Regions from separate parts of the Homo sapiens genome. Here region 2 is linked to region 1. The links are contacts of gene promoters, found by promoter capture Hi-C in human tissues and cell types (Jung and others, 2019). All regions are on one chromosome and are shown on one strand. The core of a region is centred on a gene start or on the middle of the fragment in contact, and the rest is flanking DNA. Distances in the headings are between cores, read along the strand shown.

What was found. The method cuts DNA at HindIII sites, captures the fragments that hold promoters and counts their contacts. A contact is called where the count stands out against the background at its distance.
Region 2: a contact is called between a fragment that was not itself captured here and the fragment with the promoter of ZNF703 in region 1, in 4 of the 25 tissues and cell types used here (IMR-90 fibroblasts, liver, mesendoderm cells and 1 more).

The regions. Positions count from the first base shown.
Region 1 is chr8:37,693,834-37,698,117 of GRCh38, reverse strand. It overlaps ZNF703 (zinc finger protein 703), which reads right to left and starts at 2,336. Exons shown (of 2, transcript NM_025069.3): 1 at 1,896-2,336; 2 at 1-973. The coding sequence starts at 2,138. LOC124901932 (a long non-coding RNA gene) reads right to left here and starts at 4,188. Exons shown (of 2, transcript XR_007060887.1): 1 at 4,118-4,188; 2 at 3,335-3,703. LOC124901933 (a long non-coding RNA gene) reads left to right here and starts at 2,437. Exons shown (of 2, transcript XR_007060888.1): 1 at 2,437-2,678; 2 at 3,135-3,373. RefSeq lists enhancers at 1,405-1,947, 1,948-2,491 and silencers at 2,226-2,325, 2,376-2,725, 3,513-3,697. The HindIII fragment of the contact is 17,905 bases long and covers 1-4,284 here.
Region 2 is chr8:37,428,783-37,433,066 of GRCh38, reverse strand. All of the region lies in intron 3 of LINC01605 (long intergenic non-protein coding RNA 1605), which reads left to right. Among named protein-coding and RNA genes, the nearest start is that of LINC01605, 170 kb to the left of the region's middle. The HindIII fragment of the contact is 4,324 bases long and covers 1-4,199 here.

The DNA of each region.
Region 1 (4,284 bases), core at 1,087-3,586:
CGGCAGGGTCGTGCGCGCTGCAGGTGGAGCAGCTGGAGCCGCCGAGGTGCGAGGCGCCGTGGTAACCTCCCAAGCAATAGGGGTCGCGGCATAATCCCTGCAGGAAGGAGGGCGGGGAGGCCCCGGTGAGCGGGCTGGAGCTGGGGGGCTTGCCCGGCGGCAGGCCCAGGCCCCCAGACAGCTGGCCTCCCACGAGGCCGGACTTGCTAGGATCCAGGCCAGGCACGAACTGAGACGGGTAGCCGGCGTAGGCGCCCACGATGGAGCCGTGGTAGCCAATGCTGGAGGGCGGCAGCGGGAACACCGAGTGGCCCGGCTTGTAGGGAGACACCGGCGCCACGTGGCCGGCCCCCACCAGCGCCGAGGGCGGCTCGGACTTGCGCCCGGAGGCCCCGGACTCGGCGCCACCGTGCGCCCCGGGCTCCCCACCGCCGCCGCGGCTCACGGCTGCCGGCTCCGGGCTGGGCTTGGGCTCCTGGTCTTTCTTGTCCAGCTCCCCGCCGCCAACCCCGCCGCCGTTCTTGCAGTCAGAGTGGTGCGGGGAGCCGCCGCGGGAGCCGCCGGGCGACGACGAGGACGAGGATGCGGAGACCGGCGCTCCATGCGGGGGAAAGGGCGGGCAGGCGGCGCTGGGGACCCTGAAGCCCGCCTTGTCTCCCGGGGACGAGGAGGACGAGGAGGAGGTGGAAGACACCGAGGAGGAGCCGCTGTCTTTGCGGGAGTCGCCGCCGCCGGAGCCCTTGGAGTAGGGCTTGAAGCTGGACTTGTCCTCGGCCGGTGAGTCCCCCAGCTGCTTCAGGGCCGCGGCTGCGGAGGCGGCGCCCGGGGCTGAGCGGCCGGGGTCCTTCTCCGCTCCCAGCCCGTTGGCCGCCGCCGCCACCGAGTTGAGTTTGGAGGAGGGCGGCGGGTCCGGCTTGCCGATCTGCGAGCAGGTCTGAGCCAGCAGCGCCAAGGGGCTCTTCTTGGCGTCCAGCTGTGGGAGACAGAAGCAGGGGGAGGGAGAAGGAGTGAGACTCAGAGGCCTGCGGGGCGAGCGGGGGCGCCCGGGGAGCTGGGCGGCGGCGCCACGGGGCGGGGCGGGCCTGGGGAGAGGGTCTGCGAGCGAGGGCCGGGCCGGGCGCGGCAGCTGGCGGAACTGCGCCCACACTGCCGCTGGGTCCCGGGGTGCGCCGCAGGCCCTGCGGAAGGAGTTCACCCAGGACCCCTGCGGGAGAAGGTGACGTCTCTGGAGTCGGGGCTGTGACTCGCCACTTCCCTCTAATGTCCCCCTCCTCCAGGCCCAGGAAAAAACTTATTCCTTTAGTTTGGGGGAACTTCGCTTGGGACGGGTTTCTGGCGATGGCGCCGCGGGGTAGGAGAGGGGAGCGCGGATTCTAAAGGAGGGGCTGCAGTTGGCGCTCTCTCCGTAGCCCCTCCCTCCCGGGGAGGGCACCCAGGGAAGAGGCAGGAAGAAAGATCCGGGATCGGGAGCGCCAGGGCGCCGTGCGCCCTCACCGGATGGGACAGAGGCGAAGTGGGACCCGGGCAGCCAGGGCTTCAAAGAAAACAGCCCGGCGTGGGGGGCGGGGAAGACCCAGCAGAGACCAACTCCTGGCTGGAAACTGGGGATCAGAGGAAAAGTAAAGGACCCAGAGGGGACTCCAGGAGCAAATCCAATCCGAGAGAAAACACGGAGCTCCGAAGGGCGAGCGTGGAAGGAGACCCTTCCACGGGGAAGCCTGGGGAAGCCCTGGTGGGCTCTGATCCCTCGGTTTTCTTCCCCTCCTCACTCAGCCCGCCAGCGTGACCAGACTTGGGTGTCGCACCGAGCCCCGGGGCGCTGGGAGCTGGGTCAGGGTCCCGGTCGCGGTGGGAGGAATGGGGCCGGCGCCCGGGGGCAGCGGCCGGGGACTGACCTCAATGGGGCTGACGGGAGTGGAGGACAGCGGCTGCAGGTACTCCGGGTGCAGGAGGTGACCGGTGTGAGCGCTCAGCATCTTCAGGACCCTGATCGGGAGCCGGTTCGCCTGGCGCAGGGGGTCCGCCGGTGGCAAGAGGGACACCGCTGCCGGCACCGCCGGCCTCTTCCCGCCGCCGCCGCTGCCGCTGCCGCTGCTTTCGGGTGTCCTTGGGTTAGATCCAGCGGGCGAATCGCTCATTTGGAGGAGGCAGCGCCGCTGGGGGGGCGGGGAGGGCGGGGGAGCACCGGGGAGGCGAGCTCCCGGGGCGGGTGGGCTCGCTCCGCAGCGTCGATCGCGGTGCAGCGGGAGCTGCGCCTCCTCGCCGCCTCCCCTCCTCCACCGACGCCTCCGCCGCCGCCGCCACCGCCGCTGGCCCCGGCTAGCAACACAAAAACCTTCGCCTTCCTCGAGCCGCACGTCAAATAGCCGCGATCGGCAGCCACACTTCAAAGGGATCGCCGCGCCCGCCCAATCGCAGCTCTCGCCGGGACCCCGGGGCGGGGAGAGCGGCGGGCTGAGGCCGGCTCCATCGGTGGGCGGGGAGAGCCTTAAAGGGGCCGCGCCGCGCGCCGCCGCTGCCTCGGTCTCGGCCGCTCCCGGGATTCCTCCCCTCCCCCCGACTGGGCCTTCCTCGCCCTGGGGTCCCCCGCCTGGGACGGGACTTCTCCGGGACCCTGAGCTCTGCGCCCCGTCCTCCTTTCCGGCCGCTCTCTCTCCTCTCTCCCTTCTCACCACTGGGTGGGTGGGGGGTGATGCTGGCGGGGGCTGTAACCCCGCCCGCCGTGTGTGTCCGAGGTGGGGTGGGGTGGGGTGGGGTGGGGTGGGAGGGATCGCACGGCGCGGGCTCTGGGACGCTGGAGTTCAAGCCTCTCCCAGAGGCCGCCTGGGGGCAGGCCTCGCCTCGGGAGCCCGGGTCCTTCTCCAGAGCTGCTCCGGCTCTCCTCGGCCCCGCTCTCCTTCCCCTACTTGGCCTCCCCTTGGTGTGTTCACTTGGAAGCGCCCGAGCCTCGGAGGCACCCACTGTTCTCGGGACGCGGCGTAGGCAGCTCCAACTACTTTGAGCCCGTCTTGTCTGAAGCCTGCAAGTTTGTCTCCCTTCTGGAGTGACATGGTCGGCGACCAAGCGCGGGACCCCAGGCTGTGCGCGCTGTGCCTGCGCCCTGCGTTAGAGGCTCGGTGTCTGGTGTGTTACAGGCTTCTTACCGTGTCCTGCTGAGGGGCGTGAAGTTCCTCACTGTACCGCGCCCAGCTGCTACGAGGAGAGACCGAGATCACGGGCGAGGCGGGTGTCCCTGGAGGGGGATCTCTCTCTAAGCGCTGCTCGGCAACACAACCCCTCCGCCCCCCCATCCTTCTCACTCCGGGGGAAAAAGCACTTGCTTTCCCCAGGCAAATTTCGGGATAAAAACTTTTAATTAAAAATAACAATACCCTTCCCGACTCCCTGCGCCTTTCTGATACAGTGTGCATTGCTAGCTTCGCCCTGGGCAGAGATTTTACGTAGTCATAGTCCTGACATCCAAGTTCCGGATCCGCCGCTTTTCCGGAGGCGAAGTTGGTCCTTTGGGTGCCGAACTCTGGGGAGCCCACTTCTCCGTGCGCTCGGCGGCCAGTGGAGGCGCGCTGGTGTCACTGCCTGGCTCCCAGCACCACTTTTCCAGTCCCGATCCATCACTCCGGTTGTCAGGGCTGTCACTCGGGGCGTATTGCTCTAGGATGGCAGGTTCCCGACTCTGCCGCGCTGACCGACGCCTTGAGATGACCTGAGAACCCAAGATGGGGAGAGGTGATTTCAAAGGAGCTCTTCAAACAGAAAGAAATAGCTATCACGAATCTGTATCTTGCCCAGTAGTAGAAGACAGCAGACCCCACTTCCAGGCAGTATCAGTCATACCCAAAACTAAGTGCACTCCCTGGATCCATACTGTATTTTGGGCAGCACTTATAGAATGCTTAGAAATTACACAAGCTGTAATTACATGTTCCCCAATTTTAATCTTGGTAAAATCATGTTACGCCGAATGGAAAGGGGTACCCTGACTGTGAGATGGATCCCACATTGCAGCAAGAGGGGTGCGGGAATGAAAAGGGAGGGAGTGATCTCATTTATTTCATCGTGGCAGGCTTCTCATGCCGACTTCTGTGCGGGCAGCCATTGCCATCACTGCAAACACCACCTGTAAAAGTCCACTGCAGGGCTGTGTCCACCCACAAGCCATTTTGCCTTCGGGAGACTGCTGTGTAGAGCGGGAAGGGCAGAAGGAAGCCAGGGTGCAGAGAGGCTGGCCTTTGCAGGAACGCAGAGGAGGAGGAGCTGGGCAGAGGGGAGACCTAGGAGGCTATG
Region 2 (4,284 bases), core at 788-3,287, 260 kb after region 1:
AAAAGGAGATCAATCTAAAAGTTTATAAGAAATTTGATAATTTGCTTTGTAAGAAATGGCTTGCACTCCATGGCTTTAGGCCTTGCTCTTGGGGAATTTCTCCCTCATGCTTCTTGGCCCTTTTTGTGGAATGCCTGAAGCTAGCTCTCATCTCCTAGAAAGCTCATCCATGCATTTACCACCTCTGCCACAATCCCTGTTGTAGCCCACCTCCAAGATATGAAGCTGAGAGACAAGCAGAGACCTTTGGATACAAAGGGCTTATGGAAAGGAAGCCTGCATCCCACCTGCTCCCTCCTGACTAGGGTCTTCCCAGTTCCTCAATCTTCCCCAACCATGGGGGTGTGATCTCGAAGACTCGGTTAGGAAAAGCTATCTTAATGTAACTCGAGAACTCACACAACTCACATAAATCTACACACACCCTGCAAAAGATGTTTTTGTGCCTTGCCACACTCTTTGTCATGGTATTCTATAAGGGGAGCTCTGTCATTTCTTAGGGTCAAGGACACTGAAATGGCTTAATTTGGACCAGATTCTCCTAGAGCATTAACTATTTCCTAAGAGTATCTTAAGACAGCTTGGAGCGGTATTGACTTTTTAGGTGTAATGGACCTAAACGACCCATTTAACTTTGAACCTTTAATATAATAGATTCAAGATCAGAATCCTCTTTGACTTTATAGACCATCAGTGGAGCTGAATGGTGACCTACCTTAAATGTTCCTGTTAGGTCCAATGAACAGGTGAGGGAATGAGAGAAAGAAAAATATGGAAAAGTGACAGTAAGAAAGACAAAGGAAAAAAAGAGAAATAATAGGAATAAATGAGTAGCACTTAATAAAGTGCAAGGATGTATTCTTATTCTGGATCTTATTCTGATAAATCAGTAAAGACCTAATTATAAGAAGTGAGAAAAGCACAATAATATGCAAAAACACAGAGGTTTGAGGGGTAGGGCACTGGGTGATGGTGAAGGATGATTTCCTGGAGTTGTCATATTAGTTGCATCTTAAAAAAAAGTATAAAGAAGGGCAGAAGAGCCTCCAGGCTGGTGGTGGGCATGGGCAAAGGTGAAAAGCCATGAGAGCAGGAGGGGGTGAGATCCTCATTCTGTGTGGGATCCACATCTGGATGACCTCCCATGTCCATGCCTGTTCTCTTTGTTATACTCTTTTGGTAGAGATCATTTGTGGCCCACCCAAACATCTGTTCTTGCCTTCCTTTGTAATAACAGGTCCTCATGTTTTACAAGGCACTTTTGTTGTCTCTCTTGCAGCCATGTGTGGTCTTGTTACTAAGTGTTAGCCAGTGAGAGGTAAGTGGAAATATTGTGTGGGGCTTCTGGGCAGGCTTCTTGAAGGGAGGTGGGTCAGCTTGGAGGCACTCTTCTTGTCTTGCTGCCTCTTCTCTTCCTGGCCTAGAATACAGATGTGATGGCTTGAGCTCCACAGCTGTCTTGGATCCTGAGATGGCCTGGAGAGTGGACATCATTAGCTAGGATATGGAAGTAGAATTATTGAGTCTTCTGTTTTGCTGAACATGCTATACAAGTTGAGGCAGAGCTGAATTTCGTGGGAGGACAGGGTTTTAAAAGCTGTGTAAAGGAAGGGTAGACAGAGGAACAGAAAGCTCTTATAAAACAGTGTGGGCCCGTCCACTGTTACTCCAGAATGTCCCTTGGAGGTCTCATGAGGAGGTTAATACAATAATACATTCAAGAAAAACAGATCTTTTCTTGGGGATATGCACTAGGTGGGGGAGATTGTGAGTGAAGAAAGAAAAAATAAGAAAATTAAGCCAAAAAGCAAGTTTCTGTAAAACACGGAGCTGGGATAATTTGAACCCAGAACCCATATCTAACCCCAAAACCCCTTGCTTTTTCCATAGAACATACAAGAGGAGGCCCATGTTGATTCAGAGGATGAATGAGAGGTGAGATATCACAGTCACATTAGTGTCTCGAACTTCCTAAGGGCATCACAGGGATCTGGCTTACTTCCAGAAACAGACTTAACTCTGAGAATGGCTAGCTAATTTGATGGGACTATTTTTTTAACCTTTTGTTTCAGTAGAAGAGAGTGTTATACTGCTTATGTTCAAACCTTCACTTTCCAACCAATTTCTTTGGCTTTGATAGATTTATCCCATGAGTAACTTGGTGAAATCATAGACATTCTAAGAGTTTGCCTCCAAGCTTCCAAAAGGAGTGAGGAAGTGTTTTGTTGTCAGTTATTCCATTAAAAACTGGTGTGTGTGTGTGTGTGTTATGTAGTGTGTGATATCTATATGAGAAAGAAAGAAGCAAAGGAATTTAAAGTTCTGCTATAAAAGTGGGGAGTTCTGGCCCTGGAGGCCTTTATCCTTCCTGAGAGGCAGGATTTGTTAGCTACCATTTTAGCCTGCTAATGCCAGGTTCTGCCAGTCCTGTGACTTTGCCTTGGTAGAGAGCCTTGCCAGCTCTTCATTTTTGTTATCTTCTTGGTTTAAGGAAAAGCTCAACAAATCAGGCCTGGAGGGCCGTCTAGGAGCTACTGGAAACTTGCTTTGCATTTGTTCTTTATTGTTTCTTTTATTTCAGCCTGTGCTCAAGTATTGTCTTATTAAGGAAGGCTTATTTGTCTACCCTGACCTCCTAACACTCCTAATGTCCTTTCTTCCATATTCTTCTCCATAGCATGTATCAACTTTTGATATAAAACACATTTGGGCTGGGTGCGGTGGTTCACTCCTATAATCCCAGCACTTTGGGAGGCTGAGGTGGGTGAATCACCTGAGGAGTTCAAGACCAGCCTGGCCAACATGGTGAAACCTTGTCTCTACTAAAAACACAAAAATTAGCCAGGCGAAGTGGTGCACACCTGTAATCCCAGCTACCTGGGAGTCTGAGGCAGGAGAATCACTTGAACCCAGGAGGCGGAGATTGCAGTGAGCCAAGATCACACCACTGCACTCCAGCATGGGTGACAGAATGAGACTCTGTCTCAAAAAAAAAAAAACCAAAAAAATAGAAAACAAACAAGCAAATAAAAAACACACATTTGACCTGTTTACTTCATTGTCAAGTATCTCCTTACTAGAATGTAAACCCTATAAGGGCAGATTTTGTCTGTTTTGTTTACTGATATGACCCTAGTACCTAGGACAATGCCTGACACATAGTAGACACTCAATAAATTTTCATCGAATGCCATGGTTTCCAGCTATCTATTGGCAAAAGGTATTGTTTAATGGATAATCTGGTCATTAGGACCACATGGACATCTAGAGTTAGCAGAGAATAATTCCCACTTTCTCCTTGGAGTGGGCCATGGTAAGAATTTTTAGATCTTCCTCCACCTCAAGTTCACACTCACCTTCTTCTTTTCAGTTCCCACCAATTTGGTGTTTTAGGACAACAGCCTCTTCCCACCATGTTCTGTGTAAACTCTTTCTATGTTATCAGGAGCCTCTTTATGAGGTTCCAGCAGAGAAGATAACCTTATAACCTCTATATAGCAACATCCCTGAGCATGTCGGGGAGTGAGAAGAACCCTGGAGTGTCAAGAGACTTAGATCCCAGTTTTGACCATGCAGAGATCTAATTGTGGGCCTTGAGTACCTAATTCAACCCAGTACATCTTTGCCATTCACAAATTTATTGTTTGTGAACAACTTTGAAGGTGCATGGTGTGTGATATAATTTGTCATTTTTGTTGAGGCTTGAATTTGAGCTGCCTTGAGTCTTGGATACACATTTCTTAATGAGAACTGTATGGCTAAAAAGTAGCAGGAAGCAATTTGAACAGGCTTAAGAAATGGCTTAAGTAGGAAAGGTATGCATGGCTGGATACAACTGAAAGACTCAAGATCCAGGTTCTCAAGGTCTGTTAATGAGAATTTAGAATTCTTCTCATGCCATCCTTTCTTCAGTGGCTGTTGTTTGAGTGCATTTTATGACTTCGGTGCTAGGAAAGAGGTAGTGAGAGATAAAGAGAAGCTTAGACACTGCCTTTGTTCTCAAAGAGCTTATTGCCTAGTTGAGGGACAAGACTCTCCCTCTCCCCCTGCAATGAACACCTCCTCCAGTGAACACCAGTAGCTGACTGAGTTCACTAGTCCTGGGACTATTTCACATCATTGTGACATAACTGTGCCCTGAGGTAAACTCAGGTAGTCTTCATCCAAGAGAGAATAATGTTTTATTATTTTTTTCCTTCTAGGAACTATAGCGTTTGCTTTGTAGATTGAAGGAAAGATGAGGGGAACAGAATGAATAAAATATTGGAAATGTGAGTGAATCTG